Regions from separate parts of the Homo sapiens genome. Here region 1 is linked to region 2. The links are contacts of gene promoters, found by promoter capture Hi-C in human tissues and cell types (Jung and others, 2019). All regions are on one chromosome and are shown on one strand. The core of a region is centred on a gene start or on the middle of the fragment in contact, and the rest is flanking DNA. Distances in the headings are between cores, read along the strand shown.

Region 1 (5,670 bases), core at 534-3,033, 93 kb before region 2:
GCTAAGGAAGGCAGGCTCTGTAGTGTCAAGAGAGTGAGGTGGTCCCTGGTTCCTGCAGGAAGAAGTGCTATCTCCATTCTGGGGCCTGTAGTCCCAAGCAAGATTCATTTTAAAAATGAACAGATGGTAGTCCGGGCGCGGTGGCTCACACCTGTAATCCCACCACTTTGGGAGGCTAAGGTGGGTGGATCACGAGGTCAAGAGATCGAGGCCATCCTGGCCAACATGGTGAAACCCCGTCTCTACTAAAAATACAAAAAAATTAGCCAGGCTTGATGGCACATGCATGTAGTCCCAGCTACTTGAGAGGCTGACGTGGGAGGATCCCTTGGGCCCAGGAGTTTGAGGCTGCAGTGAGCTATGATTATACCACTGCACTTTAGCCTGGGTGACAGCACAAATTCTGTCTCTAAAAAAATCAAGCAAGCAAGCAAACAAACAAACAAAAAACAACAAAAAAGAAGGGACTGGAAACCACCAATTCAATCAGAAAAAAAAATTGACTTTTAAGAGAATTCTTCTTGGCCTGGTGCAATGACTCACACCTGTAATCCTAGCACTTTGAGAGGCAGAAGTAAAATGATCACTTGAGGCCAGGAGTTCAAGACCAGCCTGGGCAACATAGTGACACCTCATACCTACAAAATATCTACAAAATATAAAAATTTAAAAAGAGAGAAATCTTCCTAACTGCAGCCTCAATTAACCTTTATTCTCTAGGTATACTGAAAAACTTACTGAATAGGCTTAGCTCAATTAAAGCTTAAAATTATTTTAAAAATAAATAATAAAGTACCTTACATAATGAGAAAAAAATAGTCAAAATAAAGCTCAAGATTTTAAGGCTTCATTTTAGAATCAAATCCTTGCCTACTTTTACTCCAATCAATTAAGTTTATGCCAAACCAGTATATAAAATTTTTACTAGTTATTATAATTGCCTAATTTAATATAAGATAAACAAGTTAATTAATTTAACTTGTGTAAGTTGTACAATATAAATAATTTAATATAAGTTAAATTCGAGTGTGAAAAGATTTACTGGCTCTATTAAAACTAAAAATAATAAGCAAGGTAATGGGTATGTTAATTAGCTTGATTTAATCTTTCCACAAAGGTACCACTGTAGGTTGGTATGACTTTCCCAGAACTCCGTTACATGAATTAGAACATCACATTGTATCAAATAAATGCACACAATTATAACTTGTCCATTAAAAAAATACTAATTGGCCCGCTTCAGTAGCAAGCACATGTAATCCCCACAACCCAGGAGGCTGAGGTAGGAGGATTCCTTGGGGCCAGAATTTCGAGACTAGCCTGTGCAACAGAGTGAAACCTCATCTGTAAAAATTTAAAAATTGTTCTAATTAGAATAATACTAATCAAAAATTGCTTTAACTAAAGCAAATGCTTTGGAAAGATTCAATATATCTGAATCAGCAAAGAGACATTGTTCTTATTTGCTAGAGGCAAAGCAATGTATTTTTTTAATTACTAAAATCTAGGATTTCCCAGTCAGACTATTAGGTAAATGTCCTTAAACTCACAGCATTTTTACAGAAAACCACAAGTAGATATTGCCAGCAATGCATTATCAACGGTGTTGCTGCCAGAAAGACAACGAGAGCTCTTTTCTGTAAGCTCACACTCACAGAGAAAATTATTTGGTATGTCTTAAAAGACTGGGAAATGAGGAGATATACCTAATGTAAATTACGAGTTAATGGGTGCAGCACACCAACATGGCACATGTATACATATGTAACAAACCTGCATGTTGTGCACATGTACCCTAGAACTTAAAGTATAATAATAAAAAAAAAGATTGGGAAATGAACAATCCAAAAATAGAATTAACAGTCCCACTTATAACATCAACAAAAGGAAAAATGGACCCATCATCAGTCACCAAGACCTGAGAACAGAGAGTGGCAGCCCCTTCACACAGGCGGCAGAGCAAGGAAGCTGTCAGCCGGCGAGCCTCCTGGAGTATACCTGAGATGGGCAGAACTGGGGACATCAGTTCTCTACAGCAGCCCTGCAATGAGGGGCTGGAGTGGTATAGAAAAAATTCCAACGCTTTTTGCTGGTAAGTGGCTCTACTCATTCATTTATCCCTGTCGCTGGTTCCCTTCTTGAAGCTTGAAAATAATCTGAACTTTCCATGTCAAGAGCAGCTGGCCTCCTCCCATACATTAATTTTCTGTATTGGCTAGGTATTGGCTGCAAACACAAGATTAAATTACACAGAGAGTCGGGTAGTGAAACTGCTCCCACTCAGGCTGAGTCACCAGATTCACCCTGAGGTGAATCTGAATCAGGCTGAGGTTTCTGGGGTTGGCTGTTAGCTTGGGTCTGCATAGCTACCTCTCAGAGAACACACTGGCCACAGCTCCCAAGCTGTAGCTGTTTCTGCCTCCCCTGACCCAGAACTGCTACTTCCCTCAACATTTCCAGTGATTCGCTGCATTTCATTTTGTCTTGTGTTTTCTACTGACGCCGCCTTATTTTTGTTTTATGTGCCTTACCTGATATTTTGGGGGTTATTCACATTTTTAAAATGTATTTTCATTTTCCCTGTAAGAGAGAGCCTGTGTTTCTGGCTTGCAAACCAGGCTGGAGATGGCACCTTCCCCAGAGCTCAGGAATTCTGGGTGAGGATTGAGTGTGGGGAATGTCATGAGATTTAGCCTGCTCCTGTAGGCAAAAGGACCTTTTGAAACACACAAGTGGGGATAGTTAGGTATTTCATACACATAACATAGTTGTGATACGAAAACCAGAGAAAGATAATCACCAAATATTCTAGGACACTGGTCCTCAATATTAGCATGCACAAGAGTCACTAGGGCTATGGATGAACATAGGTGTGATACAAATGCCAGAGAAAGATAATCACCAAATATTCTAGGACACTGGTCCTCAATATTAGTATGCATGAGAGCCACTAGGGCTATGGATGAAAATGCAAATTTCTGGGCCTTACTCCCAGAGATTCTGATTCTGTAAACCTGTGGGGAGTCCAGGAAACTGCATTTTCAAAAAGCACCTGTATTAGTCAATTTTCACACTGCTATGAAGAGCTGCCTGAGACTGGGTAATTTATAAAGAAAAGTGGTTTAATTGGCTCACAGTTCCGCTTGGCTGGGAAGGTCTCTGGAAATTTAAAATCATGGCAGAAGGCAAAGGGGAACCAAGGCGTATCTTACATGGTGGCAGGAGAGAGAGAAGGAGAAAGTGCCACACTTTTTAACCATCAGATCTCAGGAGAACTCACTCACTATCACGAGAAAAGAATGAGGGAAACTGCCCCCATGATCCAATCACCTCCCACCATGTCCCTCCCTAACATGTGGGGTAATTCAAGGTAAGATTTGGGTGGGGACACAGAGCCAAACCATATCAGCACCCATGACTTTAATAAATGGAGTTCGCCAATAACTTCTGTGAAAACAAAGACTAACCAAATAAGAAAGTAAAGGCTATCTATTCTACAACAAAGAAGTCAGCCACCATCACTTCCATTTTGGGAGAGACTCAAAGACCAGCAGAGGAGTAGGAAAGCTTTATAGTGGAAAAGGTATCACCCTTTTTTTCGCATGTTCCCTGATTGGAGGCTGTTGGCATGGGGAAGCTGAGGATAGCTAACTAGATGCACAGCATCCTATGGGATTGGTTTAGGGTACGTATTTGGCTTTCCTACGTTGCTCCTAAGTTAGAAACAGGAACAAAAATTTGGGAAGTTGTCAGTTATTAATAAAGTCCTGGCCATTTGGAGCTGACTGTTACTGGAGTTACTGTTTAGTTTCCTGGATTGTTACCAGAGAAAGTCTGACTTCCTACAAGTGTGACTTACAGCAAGTGGCTTCCTGGGCTGTTTATTGTAGAAAAGTGGGTTGATTTCCTAGGCAGGCTGCTGTAGGTTATGGGTCAGAGTTCTGTTTTTATATGTGGTCTGGCCATTGTCTGTATATTTTGTCTCTCATCTCTAAGAAATACAGCCATAAACCAAGCTCTTTTTGTAACACAGAGCAGAACTTCAATACAGGGGACTGCTTTCTTCATTATTGCTGTCATCTATTTATTGCTGTTTTTTGACAGTGATGATCTCAAGGCTAAAACGGCTGAACACCCCATTTAATTAGGGTAGTTCAGGGCTCTAACTTACATGCTTTACACAACCATTGCCTTCTTAGACATGGCAGATAACAAGCATGGAATATTATTGCTAGTCTTGGCTTTGTGGTGTAAAGCTGGTTTTCATACAGCTCCCAGAAAGCTCTCTATAGACATCAGTGGAGCCAAAAGTCTTCAAGCTTTATCCCATCTTATTTCCTGCTTCTCTTGTGCCCATGGGTCATTGTCTTTCCTGTGACAACTGAGGTTAAAGATAAATCTTGGATTTCTCCCTTTATGGCTTCCACAATGCTTATCTTCTTTGTCGTAATCCTGGATATCTACGTGGATTCCATTTGTTCAGTCAAAATGGAAGTTTCCAAATGTCCCCATGATTGATCCTTTCCTGTTTTTATTAGTGCTTTGGAAATTTCTGAATACATCCAACAACAGTCTGACTTCAGGCTATGAACAAAATGGCATACCAGGAAAGTGCAGAACACATCCTGTCTGGAGGAGTGATAGTGAGTACTAGGTCTTCATTTTGTCTACCAACGTCTTTTCATCTCCCTCTAAGAGAGGACGGAACGCTTTTTGCCTCTGTAGAATCATTCTATGATGTGTTGACCAGCAGTCTGGGTCTCATCTCAGATGTATTTCACACACTCTATGACAGATGTGTTTTAGTCATGATATTTATTGCTGCCCTGATGAAAAGATGGAATGCAATGGGATTTTTCTCCTATGGGTGCACCCAAATAGAAATTCTCTCTCAATTTATTAATAGACTTTTTCTTTTCTCCAAGAAAATTCCATTTGTATTTCAATTGGTATTAAAACAAACTTACAAGTGTTTTGAAGGAATTGACCTCTTTCCTAACATGCACCTTTCCACTCTGAGCAGCAGCTCTAATGTACTGTATTTCCTTGACACCATTACCAAGTATGAGCCACATCATCAATTTGATAGCAGATTTGTAAAAACCAAACCAAAACATTACATTACATCCAGAATGTGATGATTCTTCCAAATCACTTTCAGCCACTGGCAGCCATCACAGCGACAAGCTGTCTACTCCCACTCCTCCTCTGCAGGCTTAAGCTATTAGAAAATCTATTCTCTAACATATTTGAAAGTTCTAAGGTCAAACAAGTTTTAGGGCTGTTTGATTCAGCCACTCATCCATGTCCTCAAGGTCCCAGCTTGTGTTCATCTATGCTTTGTGGTCCTGACTGTACTGGTTTCGCCTCCAGGCTCCTGGCACATGGATGGAACAGTTCTGGTATCACATCCAAACACAGCAATGTCCAGAGATCCAAAGAGATTCTCAGTCTTTTTCTTAGGAAGGAGGGACCTTCCTAGAAGCCCCACAGCTTTTTTCCTTTCTCATTGGAAAAACAGGGTCACTAGTCCACTCTGAAACCAATTTCTGACATGGGGTGGGGGCCACTATAATTATTTAAGGCCAAACAGAATGTACCCTCAGGTGGTGGTGGTGGTTTTTGTCATAATTGCAGATCTTGGACCTCCAAAATAAATGTGAAGCACAA
Region 2 (5,861 bases), core at 1,052-3,551:
TCTATTAAGTCTATCAACTCTATAAAAAATGTGTTTACACACTTTTTATATTACATTATTCTTTAATGCTTCTAAAAAAACTGAAATACACAAAATGTACACACCCAAGAAGTCAAAAATCCCAATTATGGGATTCTTTTGTTCATTTTGCAAATAATAACAAAAAGGCAAACAACCCAATTTTTTTTAATGGGCAATGGATATGAACAGGTAATTGACAAAAGAGCAAGCCCAAATATAGACAGCAAATACAGAAAAATACCCAGTCTCCTGAGTGGGTATAAAAATGCCAAAGGAGCTGTCACTTTATACTTATAAATTTAAGAAGTGATAACACTGGCCAGGCAAGGTGGCTCATGCCTGTAATCCCAGCACTTTGGGAGGCTGAGGTGGGTGGATCACCTGAGCTCAGGAGTTCGAGATCAGCTTGGCCAACATGGCGAAACCCCATCTCTACTACAAATACAAAAATTAGCCAGGTGTGGTGGCACATGCCTGTAATCCCAGCTACCTGGGAGGCTGAGGCAGGAGAATGGCTTGAACCCAGGAGGTGGAGGTTTACAGTGAGACAAGATCGTGCCACTGCATTCCAGCCTGAGTGACAGAGCGAGACTCTGACTCAAAAAAAAAAAAAAAAAAGTGATAACACCCACTTCTGGGGTCGGGGTGAGGAGGCTCCAAAACATTACTGGTGAAAAATATGAATTATTAATGGCTTTTTGGGGAAAATGATCTGGTAATATTAATTAAATATGTATACTCATTGACCTAATAACTCTGTGTTTATAATTTACTTATAAATGCACCAGTGCATAGGGATATATGTCTGAAAATATTTTGCGTAGTGTGGAGAAAATACTGGAAAACCTTCAAAAACTAAAAGATCCACAATGCTGAACTGATACTATAGCATATTGTGCAACTATTATAAAGAATAAATTAGAATTAGATGTACTGCCCTGGTGAGATGCCCATGAAATATTAGGTGACAAAAGGTAAATTGATGCACATGGTTTTGATTTTTTTTTTTAATGTCCTTATATAAGTTTGTAGGGAGGAGAATACGGTTTATAACTCTGCAGGCAGAAAGCCTGTAGCCAAACCCTGGCTTCATCACCTCCTGTATGTGATCATCCCCCCGGGCCTCAGTTCCGTCAACTGTAAGAGGGGTTAATAATAACATGGATCTGGCAAGCTTGTCGTTGAGTATATGATAATTTCTGAAAAGTGCTACAGATGCCTGGTGCACAATTCAGTAACAGCATGAGTACAATGTATATGAGAAGGCAGAACACAGAAGATGAAAACACACCACACAGGTCAGGCACGGTGGCTCATGCCTATAGTAATCCCAGCACTCTGGAACACTGGCAGGTGGCTCACCTGAGGTCAGGAGTTCGACACCAGCCAGGCCAACATGGCAAAACCCCGTCTCTACCAAAAATATAAAAATTAGCTGGGCGTGGTGGTGTGCACTTGTAATCCCAGCTACTCAGGAGGCTGAGGCAGGAGAATCACTTGAAGCCAGGAGGCGGAGGTTGCAGTGGCCCAAGATCGCACCATTGCACTCCAGCCTGGGTGACAAGAGCAAAACTCCATCTCAAAAAAAAAAAAAAAAAAAAAGGAAAATATTATTTATAAAATAGAAAATTAAAAAAAAAATTTTAAATACACATTTTTAAAAACCACTTGCAGGCTCTCACACACTGCATATCCAGGATTCACATGCAGGCAGCCTGGCTCTAGACGCGGGGCTCCAGTGCCTCCGGTGTCTCAGCCCGTGACTTCCCTGCTCTCAACCTCAGTTTACTCCACTGTGAAATGGACTTCCAGATACTCACCTCTTGAGTTTGCTGCAAGCGTAAATGGCATCAGGCTTGGACCTGGGGGAAGGAAGTGTTTTTAAAATGGGTAGCTTTGTTACCTCAGTCCTTGCGGGGAGAAGATGTGCCAATGCCCCGGGCCTCTGCGATGTAAGTTCCTGTTGAGTTGTTCAATGTTCCACTGAGAGGAGAGACAAGCAGGACCGGGATCCCGGCCCCGGGTCTTCCAGAAACGGCGGGGCGAAGCGCCCAGGGGCCTGTGCGTCCCTCCCTGCTGAGCGAGGGGGCCTGTCATTGCCGTGGGCGTGACCCAGACCCCAACCACAGTGCATCCCGCCCTGGCCCAGCCAGAGAAGGAAGCTGAGTCTGGGGTCTGCTGGGCCAGCAGGAAGTCCCAGCAGGGTGTGAAGCAAGACTTTCCGGGCCACTCCTGGAATCCCCCAGCAGATAAAGGCGGCCCCTCCACCGGGCGCTCCTAGCGGTCTCCCGGACCCTGCCGCCCTGCCACTATGTCCCGCCGCTCTATGCTGCTTGCCTGGGCTCTCCCCAGCCTCCTTCGACTCGGAGCGGCTCAGGAGACAGAAGACCCGGCCTGCTGCAGCCCCATAGTGCCCCGGAACGAGTGGAAGGCCCTGGCATCAGAGTGCGCCCAGCACCTGAGCCTGCCCTTACGCTATGTGGTGGTATCGCACACGGCGGGCAGCAGCTGCAACACCCCCGCCTCGTGCCAGCAGCAGGCCCGGAATGTGCAGCACTACCACATGAAGACACTGGGCTGGTGCGACGTGGGCTACAAGTGAGTGTGGCAGGGGGGCACGGGCTGGACTGGGGATCCCAGAGGCAAAGGTGTGCAAGTGCCCGCCAGCGGGACCATTTCTAGGCCTGGTGCTGAGGCCACCTGGCTGACACCCTGAGCAGCTTACTGAACCTCACAAGGTCATTTCTTCCTCGGGTCACCACGTGGGCCGGGGCAGGTGCTCACAGCACAAAGATGCGTGAGAAGGGGGGATGGGCTGAAATCCAAGCCCCGCTCCCGCTCCCGGGAAGAAGGGGCAGGCTTTGCCTAACACACACCAAGGTGTCCGCGACGCCTTATGAAGGCGCCCCTTCCTGATGCCTGGTGCCTTTGTTAGGAGGCGGAAAACCAGGCTGACTCAGTGCGGAGCTGGGTTCCAGGGTCAGCTCATCTTATTGCTGGCTGAGGCCTGGGGCGGGTCCTCCCGGCTTCAGCTTCCTCCTCGGCAAAGTCAATGGAATCGCGGCCCATCTGCTCCTTATATGAGCCAATACAGGCAAAGCACCTAGGAACTGCCTGGCACACGGGGGCCCGCAAAGCCACGGGCTATTACCATTAGGCACCTACTATGTGCCAGGCAGTGTGCCAGATGTGGCATGGAGAACGGTGCCACTCTAGCCTCCTGGGGTTGAAAGACCAGCAGGGAGAAACAAGCCAAGGCCACAGGTGAATTCAGACGGTGATAGAGGCGATGGATAAAAGGAAAGAGGTGAGGGAGGGTGACCTCAGGCTGGGACCAGACCCACACAGGCTCCTTGGAAGGGTGGGGCAAGGGAAAGCCTCCCTGAGAGTGGCTGCCTTGGCTCTGGGATGGGGGAGCAGACAGAGGCCTGCAGGTGGCAGGGGGTGCTGGGGGCAAAGCCAACGGGGTTGAGTGGGCGGGTCCTGTGGGAAGGACAGGGTGGCTGAACACAGCCGGGCGAGCGGAATGAAATGAGGAAAGGGCAGGACCAGGCAGGGCTTTGTGGACCACAGTGAGGACTGTAGCTTTTACTCCGAGATGGGAGCCATGGGAGGCTTCCCCCCGCAGAGCAGGGACCAGGGCTAGTGTAGGTACAAGAGACTCCCTCTGGCTGCTGTGGGGAGAACAGACTGTAAGGGGTGCCGGCTGAAGCAGGCTGAAGCAGGTCCGGGGCCACGCCTACCAGCTACCTCCTCCTTAGAATGGGCTGCAGTCCAGCCTGACGGTTTCCACAGGGAGGGAACTTTCAATCCTGCAGGCTCTCAGACCCAGGTAAGCATCAGAATCTCCTGCAGAGCTTATTGGAGGAACATGCAGGTCCCCAGAGACCACTTCAATAGACCCCACCCAGGGGACACATGTTCTCAGGACCTCCTAAGGCTGTGTCTCACACACACACACACACAAAACCCACCCAGAGAAGTCTAGAAGTGTCCAAAGGTATTCCCAGCCCTTCCAGTTCAAGATTTTATCAAAGACTCCAACTTCAACATTTTGTTTCCAAGACTCAGGCGCTCTGATCCTAAGTGTTCCCATGAGGTCACGAAGGCCCGAGCCTCGGGTCCACATCACCACATACAGAAGCAGCCGCTGTCTGGCCCTCAGCTTTTAGGATTCCGAATCTGGTTCTAACGTTCTGAATCCCCTTTCCATGTCACGTCACCTTCTCTCTCTGAGCCTCGTTTCTTCACCTGTAAATGGGGCTTCTGACTGTACCCGCTTGGCGATGGTGGCTGAGGTTTCAATGAGATGCATTCATGCAACAAATGACCAGGGAGAACCAACCACCCCCGACCCCAGCACCATCATGCCAGGCTCCGGGAATATGGCAGGGCCATAACCAGCCAGTCCCAGCAGCCAGCATCACCAGCAGGGCCATAACCAGCCAGTCCCAGCAGCCAGCATCACTGGGGCCAGATTCTGGGAGCTGGCTTCCTAAGCAGCAGATTCGGGACTCAAGATTCGGAAGTTCCGACATTCTGTGCGTCATTAATGACACTGTGAGCGCGGGGGCTGAGTTGGCACATACTGCAGCTCCAAGGCACTGATCTTCTAGTTCATTCCCATTTGCCAAGTCAGACACGCTCAATCAGATGTGCTGAATGAATCAGCCTTAAGGATCTGCTGCCAGGCTTGGGAACCTCAAAGAGGCAGGTGCTGGGGCTCCAGGGTCGGTATCTGGTTACGACCCCAACTTTGAGTCTGTGATCCTGTCCCCCAGTGGACCCCGAGGGCAGGAAGCAAGCTGGGGCAAAGGCAGAGTTCTGAGAGGCAGGGGGCTCTGAGTAGCTTGTACAAATTATGTCGCTTTCTGAGTCTCTGCTCTCTCTGCTTAAGATGAGGATGATAAGAGTCCCTGCCTTGGCTGGGCACGGTGACTCATGCTTGTAATCCCAGCACTTTGGGAGGCCAAAGGCGGGCAGATCACCTGAGGTCGGGAGTTCGAGACCAGCCTGGCCAACATGGTGAAACCCCATCTCTACTAATAATACAAAAATTAGCCGGGTGTGGTGGCTCATGCTTGTAATCCCAGGTACTCAGGAGGCTGAGGCACGAGAATCACTTGAACCCAGGAGGCAGAGGTTGCGGTGAGCTGAGATCACGCCACTGCACTCCAGCCTGAGCAACAAGAGTGAAACCCCGTCTTAAAAAAAAAAAAAAAAAAAAGTCTCTGCCTCAGAGGGCTGTCCTGCAAGGATTCAGTAAAACAGGACTTCCACAAATCCTCTAGGGAGGCAGGAGAGAGCAACGCACAAGATCACATGGGTGGGGACCATGGAGGCCTGGTTAAAAACCCCAGCTGTGCCCCAGACAGGCTGTGTGACCCCGGGGCAGGTGATTCTACCGCTCTGATTCTGTCTATATAAAACGGGGGTGATAGTGACTCACAGGGTTGCTGTGAGGATGGAAAAAGGTGTATGCAGAGCTGTGCTTGGCACATGGCAGGGGCCCAATAAATGACCACAGTCATTGTTACTATCGTGGGAAATTAACGGGTGAGAAGGATGCTGGGGAAGTTGTGTGCACCACGGCAGTAACGGAGGCAGGGTGAGTGGAGGAAGGAGGAGGAGTCCTCCTCGGGAAACCCTCCCTCACTCATCAAGCCCCCCCACCTCCCCATGCAGCTTCCTGATTGGAGAAGACGGGCTCGTATACGAGGGCCGTGGCTGGAACTTCACGGGTGCCCACTCAGGTCACTTATGGAACCCCATGTCCATTGGCATCAGCTTCATGGGCAACTACATGGGTGAGTGACTGTCCAGCCAGTTGGGATGGGGGC

What was found. The method cuts DNA at HindIII sites, captures the fragments that hold promoters and counts their contacts. A contact is called where the count stands out against the background at its distance.
Region 1: a fragment that was not itself captured here is called in contact with the fragment with the promoter of PGLYRP1 in region 2 in 4 of the 25 tissues and cell types used here (IMR-90 fibroblasts, aorta, hippocampus and 1 more).

What each region holds. Positions count from the first base shown.
Region 1 is chr19:46,112,238-46,117,907 of GRCh38, reverse strand. It overlaps a transcript of IGFL2 not described here and the pseudogene LOC100533846. Among named protein-coding and RNA genes, the nearest start is that of IGFL3, 9.6 kb to the left of the region's middle. The HindIII fragment of the contact is 4,320 bases long and covers 1-3,943 here.
Region 2 is chr19:46,019,493-46,025,353 of GRCh38, reverse strand. It overlaps PGLYRP1 (peptidoglycan recognition protein 1), which reads left to right and starts at 2,301. Exons shown (of 3, transcript NM_005091.3): 1 at 2,301-2,619; 2 at 5,707-5,828. The coding sequence starts at 2,333. RefSeq lists an enhancer at 2,808-3,693. The HindIII fragment of the contact is 20,258 bases long and covers 1-5,861 here.